Linked DNA regions of Homo sapiens: region 1 is linked to region 2. Evidence: promoter capture Hi-C in 16 types of primary human blood cells and fetal thymus (Javierre and others, 2016). All regions are on one chromosome and are shown on one strand. The core of a region is centred on a gene start or on the middle of the fragment in contact, and the rest is flanking DNA. Distances in the headings are between cores, read along the strand shown. Region 1 overlaps MAILR (macrophage interferon regulatory lncRNA). Region 2 holds the start of ATP6V1C1 (ATPase H+ transporting V1 subunit C1).

Region 1 (3,861 bases), core at 14-2,513, 120 kb after region 2:
CTTTTTGTTTGGGGCCCTTAGACTGTAAGGTATTGCAGAGGAAAAGGGCTTACTAATAGACAACGGCAACTAGGACTGACTCCTTAGGTCTGAATGAGTTCCCCTGGGGCTTCCTAACTTTATCCTAAGAAGGACCCCTGTCCCCAAGAAAGAATGGAAATAAAAGGGGGAAAGGAAGAACGTAAAATCATATTTGCTTGACTATAGGTTTACAAAAATCCCTGGAAGGATACATAAGAGACTAGTAACAGATCCGCCCACCACGGCCTCCCGAGTAGCTGAGACTACAGGCATGCGCCACCACGTCCAGCTAATTTTGGTGTTTTTGTAGAGATGGGGTTTCCCCATGTTACCTAGGCTGGTCTTGAACTCCTGGGCTCAAGTGATCTGCTCACCTTGGCCTCCCAAGATGCTGGGATTACAGGTGTGAGCCACCGGGCCCATCCAGTGGTTACCTTTTGCAGGTTGGGGTGGGAAATGGATGGATGCAGGGTGGCTGAGAGGAACATTCTTTACTATCTTCTTATTCTTTCTTGATTTTTGAAGTATCCATAAAACTGAGTCAAAAAAAAAATAAATTAAGACAACAGGAAATTTAAAGGCCATGTCTTCAAATAGTTTAGGAAGGCTGAGTAAGGGTGCCCTAGAGAAGAGGAAGGAGAGAGAAAAAGCAGCTACAGGCCCCATTCCCATGGCAAGGCTGAGGCTCCTGCGGCTTGGCCACAAGAAGCGGGTACAGGAGGAACCAGCTGCCCTTCAGCTCTGCGGGCTTCACCTTGCTATAATTCCAAGATGAAAGGAACGGTGACCTCATTTTGAACTTCATTCTAGTGAAATAGTTACAATTCTTGTCTCTGCTGCCTCTGAAATAGCTCTGGAACCTGGGCTTTCTTCACCTCTCACCTGGATTCCTCTGACAATCTTCAGACTAGTCTCCTTGTCCCAAGCTTCAAATCCATCCACCAGACTTAAATTTCTTTTTTGAAATGAAAACCTGATCATGCCCCTCCAGGCCCCTTCCACACTTAAAACCCTTCAACAGTTGCCCATGTTGCCCATTGAGCTATGACAAAATCTCAGTTCTTTCTATGTCCTTTCAGGATCTGCCACTCTCCTACTCGCCTTTGCTCTACCCACACACGGCTGCTTGTGGTTTTCTGGGTGTCCCATCCTGCCATGCTTTGAGGTTTTGCATATGCAGTTCCTTCTGCATATGCAAAAGGAATATGCATATTCCTTCGTTTTGTGTTTTGTCATCCTGGAAAACTCCATTCTTCCTTCAGGATGTGGCTCAAATGCCATCTCATCTCTGTGACCTTGCCCTGGACCCTGACCCCAGTCACCCAACACACTTTGAATATGTGCTGATTAACACTTATTGTACCCTAGTCGCATTATTTCTACGCCTCTGTTAGACTTTCAACCCCATGACAGACAGCAGGAGTTATGCCTTATCCATCTTTTTATTTCCAGTTTACAGAGAAAACTTGGGTTATAAATGGATCACCAGTTTGCTCTGGATTAAATGCTCAGGACCAGCACATAGAACACTGCTAAGGTACCCCGAGGTTAAGCTTGCCTTCCAGAATTCCGTAAACTTGGCTCTGTCCCTGTCTAAATAATAATGCTGTTTAAACACTACAATTGGCTCTGTCCCTGACTAAATAATGATTGGAGTTTAAACTCTAGCCAGATAAATCCTTTGCTCACTTTTTTTTTTTAAATGCTGAAGTACTTGAAGATGTGGCCTTATACCAAGGAGCACAAAAGTGGTATTATTCACTGTGTAAATGCTTTGAAAGTCAGAACGTGTCACACTCCTTAGTAACACAGCACAGTGATACAGTAGCAACAGGTAGGGTCCAATAGCAACCACGTGTGGACAGACTCACTCTGGGGAAACTCCAAGGAGTAGAGTAATGGTGTTTTTAGTTCCAGCTCAGAAAGCCAAGTGTGGTGTTCACATAGTATGCCTCTCTGTAGGGTAGCTGTGGCAAATGTTAATGGATTTATGAACTGCTAAAAGATTAAACCCCACAGAACTTTTTACATAAAATTTTTTGTTGATTTTTAAAAACTATAGTGAAATGTTCATAATGTACCACTTTAACCATTTTAAAGTGTACAATCCATTGGCATTAACTACATCACAATGTTGTGCAACCATTATCCATTTCCAAAACTTGTTCATTATCCCAGACAGACTCTATGCCCATTAAACAATACCTTCCCATTTCTCCTTTCCCTCTGGTCCCGGGTGTCCGTTCTACTTTCTCTCTTTATGAATGTGCCTATTCTAGGTATCTCATACAAGTGGAATCATACAAAACTTGTGTTTCTGTGTCCGTCTTATTTCACTGAGCATGTTTTCAATGTTCATCCATGTTGTCGCATGTATCAGGACTTCATTCTTGTTTACGGCCAAGTAATATTCTGTTCTATGTGTATAGCACACTTGGTCAACCCATTTATCTATTGATGGACATTTGGGTTGTTTCTCAATAACCTTTAAGCTATTTTGAATAATGTTGCTATGAACATGGATGTACAATTTCTGAATACCTGCTTTCAATTCTTTTGGATATATAGCTAGAAGTGGAATTGCTGAATCTTACGGTAATTCTGTTTACCTTTTTGAAGAATAGCCAAACTGTTTCCCACAGTGGCTGTAACCAGGTGGCGTTTTCACCAGCAATGTACAAGGGTTTCGATTTCTCTACATCCTTGCCAATACTTGTTATTTTTCATTTTTTGATAACAGTCATCCTAATGGGTTTTGTAGTTTTGATTTGAACTTCCCTGGTGACTAGTGAAGTTAAACATCTTTTCATATGCTTATTGGCCATTTGTATACCTTCTTTGAAGAAAGGTCTATTCAAATTATTTGCCCATTGTTTTTTTCAGAGATGGGGTCTTACTCTGTCACCCAGGCTGGAGTGCAATGGCATGATCATAGATCGCTACAACCTTGAATTCCTGGGCTCAAGTGATCCTCCCACCTTGGCCTCCCGAGTAGCTGGGACTACAGGCATGCACCACCACACCCAACTACTTTGCCCTTTTTAAAAATATTTCCAACTTTTACTTCAAGTTCAGTGGTACACGTGCAGGATACTTTGCCCATTTTTTAATACGATTTTTTGTTGTTGTTGAGTTGTAGTTCCTTATGTATTATGGATATTAATCCCTTATCAGATATAATATTTGCAAATATCTTTGCATAACGTTTTTTTGAGATGGAGCCTCACTCTGTTGCCCAAGCTGGAGTGCAGTGGCATAATCTTGGCTCACTGCAACCTCCGCCTCCCAGGTTCAAGCAATTCTCCTGCCTCAGCCTCCCAAGTAGCTGGGATTACAGGTGTGTGCCAGCATACCCAGCTATGGGATGTATTTTTAGTAGAGACGGGTTTCGCCATGTTGGCCAGGCTGGTATCTAACTCCTGACCTCAGGTGATCTGCCTGCCTCGGCCTCCCAAAGTGCTGAGATTACAGGCATGAGCCACCATGCCTGGCCATGTCTGGCCTTTGCATAACTTTTTAAACGTCATCCAAAATAAAGTACTAATGTTATAATTAACAGCAATCGGAGTGGTGATGCTCAGCTTTTCGGATGCTAAAATGAAACCTATGCTGCCAGCTGGGAGACACCCTTCCTTCCTGTCAGTGTCTTAGAAATGGGGGTGAGCAATCAGCAGCAACAGGTGGCAAGGAGAGTCCAGTAGGTAGTGTGGGAGCCAAAGGATGAACAGGGCTGAAGTCTCATTTCCAGAACAAGAAGGTCAAGGAACAGATCCTGGATTCTCCTGCCACCATGAATGCTGACTGAGAAGGCCATTCCTGCTTCTTCCTCTCAGTGATCAA
Region 2 (3,603 bases), core at 587-3,086:
ACCACTCCCAGCTAGTTATTTTTTTATTTTTGGTAGAGACGGTGGTCTCACTATGTTGCCCAGGCTGGTCCTGAACTCCTGGCCTCAGGCAATCCTCCCACCTCAGCCTCCCAAAATGTTGGGATTATAGTCACGAGCCACCCTGCCAGGCCTGGAATGTTCTTTTCACTCACACCTTCACATTCCCTTTTCAGTCTCTTTTCAGATCTCAGGTCAAAAGTCATACCCTCTCAGAGCGAGAGGGTATGAAGAATATAAATAAAATTGTTTTAATCTTTAAAAAGTCATATTCTTAGCAATGCCTTTTTAAAATCTTCCATAATACACATGCCCCTACTACACTCTTTCATACCACTGTTATTCCTTCAAAGCACATTTCACGCTTGCTTGATTTTTAAAATCCATCCCCTCTGCTTGCCTGTAAGCTCTATAAAGACAATTTTCTAAACCCTACCATCAGCACTGTACCTGCATACAGCATGTATTCAGTACACATTATTTGCATGAATAAGTAAACGACTACCATTCAAAAGTCCTCGTTACCTGACTCCCAACTTTCTTTCCCACTTCTCCGCAGTGCAATCCACTGTAAAAGCTACTTCTGACTCCACCAGAAGCATTCCCTACCCCCATCTTCAGGCTTTCAAATCCTGTGGCTTTCCCTGCCTGTAAAATTATCCCCATTTCTCTCAACCTGTTCAAATCCTGAGGGCTTGCCAAGACTCAAGTTTTCTTTCCTCCAGAATATCTTCCCATAGTGCCAGTTTACACATGTGTCGTTGCTCCACACTTTCAAAGCACTTCGCATTCTCTTTTTGGTAAGTATACATAAACTGCATCGTATTTTAACGTGTCCTGTGTGTAGACTTTTCTCTCCAACGTTAGTGCTAACTCCTAAGGATAGACTGTTCACATCCCACCCGTTCCATTCCCAGAGCGGCGCTAAGTACTGGGCTCGCACTGAAGCATGTGATTTTTCCCTAACATACCAGAATTTTCCTCTGAAAAGAATACTAGCTTCCCCCTTACTCCTGTTTCTCAAGTGATTCAATATGCCTTATGTGACTCTCACCAAGTTCTTTTCTAGGGGTTTGTTTTGTTTTGTTCTGTTTTGTTTGCCTACCCTCCCCCATTCTACTAAAAAATAGTTGAGTTCTCTGGATTCCTGTTCTTTCTCATTCCTAGAGGGACCTTGTGTACTCTGTGAGGGTTCCTTGCCTGCAGTTAGGGGCTCCTAGGCCTTTAAACTGTCATCCCACCACCCCCGACCCCCGACACCCGCGCCCCCCCCAACACACACCCAGTGAAGGCACTTGCGCTAGCTGTGACCTCACACACACCACTCCATAGCCTCACCTGGACCTATCACTTCATTCCCCTCAATCAATCAGGCGGCGTGCATTCCTACCCAAGAAGAAAGATCCCAGACCGCTGTATCTCTCCTTTCTGCCTGTCATTAACTACCCACGAGAGCTCTTTCTCTTTTTCCCTCCTTCTCTTCCTTAGAGACGGAACCTAGGCCCAAGACGGTGAATTGGCGCCGAGAAACCAGACACAGCCACCCAGCCAGCTCCAGCTCCAACGCCACGGTCTCTGCCCCCGCACCCACCCGCGTCCCTCCCAGGCAGCGACCGGAGCTCATGCTTCGGCCTGACCAGGACTCCCCATCCGGGGAGAGCCATCGCTCACTGACCCAGGAAGGTGTCAAACGAGGAAGTAGCAGCAGTAACAGGTACCGAGGCAGACAGCCTAGCGGACGCTATCGGCTCAGCGATCCATCCCTTCCCGACCTAAGCTCCGGCCTCACGGCTTCCTCTACCCAAGCGAACACAGAACAAGTCACGTGCCAGCCCAGCAGTCAGCTGACCGCGGCGCGCGCTGCTCCGCCTACGCCCGCGCCACTGCGCAGCCGCAGCCGCTGCCACTGCCGGGCCTTGGGAGAGGGGCGGGACTAGGAGGCTACGGGGCGGCAAGGGGACCCTATATTCGGGGCTGATCGCTGTTGTTCCAGAGTGGGTGGGGTTTTCCGCTTCTTCCAGTGTTGCAAGTGGCGTTTTGTCCACCACTTGTAAACGTCAGCGCCACTGCAGGTTTCTGCGGGTCAGAAATTGTCTCCAACCCCCTACAAGGGCTTCTCCACTTGGGGTTTTCTTCGTCAGCTGGGTTTTCTACCTAGTATACTGGCTAGTAGTTCATTTTAGCAGATTCACATTTTCCTGAAGTCCACTTAGACTTAATTTCATAAATGGTCCATGGAGCATTTACTGTGCGCCAAGCACTGCGCTCGTTCTTAGGATTGCCTACTGGAGAGAATCACTCCTTGCCACGAAAGCGCCTCATAGATAGTTGAAACCACATTAGATAGTGGGAAACCAAAGGTTTTAGGACAGAGGCATAGACAGGGGAAAGCATCTCCTTTGGAGAAAAATAGGTAACAAGCTCCTCCCAGGAACCCTGCTTATTTCATTAGCTTGGGGAGATAGATAGTAATGTCCTAATTTAGAACACAGAGTTTTAGAAGTAGTAGAAATTTTGAGATGTTCTAATTTAATCCTTTTAGATCTACAGATGAAGAAAGTGAGGGCACGGAGTTGTTCAGCGCAAGGGAATAGATACCAGGTGTTGAATCCAGGCTCTCCTACTTACTAGTTGTGTGACCTTACTCCTCTGAATTTCAGCCTGTTCACATGCAAAGTGGTGGTAATAATACCTTACACAGGTATTGTGAGGATTAAATGAAGCCTGTGGTTAGCACAGTGCCTGGTACATAGGAAACAACCAGTAAATGGTCGTCATTATTACTATGTATTATAGGACCCAGGTTTTCTGACCTATACTATGCCTTTTCTGCTGTGTCCCCCTACAGAAATTCACCACAGAATTTCTCAGAGCCTCAGTATTAGGTTGGACAGAAAGTAACAACCACCAGACTATCCCCAACCTGACGCTTTCACCAGTTTTGGATGAAGTTCATGCAATTACAATAACCAGTTCTATAACATGGCTTCAGAAACTTATCAGAATTCCAGAGGCTTTTATCTGCCATCACGAAATGAGCCTAAAGGCATTTTTTTTTTGGTTAGGTCCACTAAAACTTTCTGCCATGATGCAAATGTTATCCTGTGCTGTCTGTACAGTACCCACTAGCTACATGGAGCCATTGAGCACTTGAAATATGGTTAGTGTGACTTAGTAACTGAATTTTAAAATTTATTTCACTTTAATTAAAATTTAAATAGCCACATGAGACCAGTGACAACAGCCTTAGACAGTGCAGTTTTAAGGTCCATGCTTGAACTATCTTGGTTTCTTCGTGCTTGTGTGTGGTCCTGAGGCAGACTTTTTGTCTTGGATTCTTAATTTCTAAACTGAATTATACCTCGCGCAACTTTCCAACATTTGGGGTTTTTTTTTTAGTTTTGGGGTTTTTTTTGAGATGGAGTCTCGCCCTGTCGCCCAGGTTGGAGAGCAGTGGTGCGATCTCAGCTCACTGCAAACTCCACCTCCCGGGTTCAAGCGATTCTTGTGCCTTGCCCTCCTAAGTAGCTGGGACTACAGGCGTGCACCATCACACCCAACTAATTTTTGTATTTTTAGTAGAGA

The links. Contacts are between HindIII fragments. The CHiCAGO score rates a contact against its expected background, and 5 or more counts as called.
Region 1: a fragment that was not itself captured here is called in contact with the fragment with the promoter of ATP6V1C1 in region 2 in 1 of 17 cell types (erythroblasts); the score reaches 5.7 in erythroblasts.

What each region holds. Positions count from the first base shown.
Region 1 is chr8:102,900,920-102,904,780 of GRCh38, reverse strand. All of the region lies in intron 2 of MAILR (macrophage interferon regulatory lncRNA), which reads right to left. Among named protein-coding and RNA genes, the nearest start is that of MAILR, 39 kb to the right of the region's middle. The HindIII fragment of the contact is 627 bases long and covers 950-1,576 here.
Region 2 is chr8:103,019,316-103,022,918 of GRCh38, reverse strand. ATP6V1C1 (ATPase H+ transporting V1 subunit C1) reads right to left here and starts at 1,836. Exons shown (of 13, transcript NM_001695.5): 1 at 1,694-1,836. RefSeq lists an enhancer at 1,397-1,606. The HindIII fragment of the contact is 13,168 bases long and covers 1-3,603 here.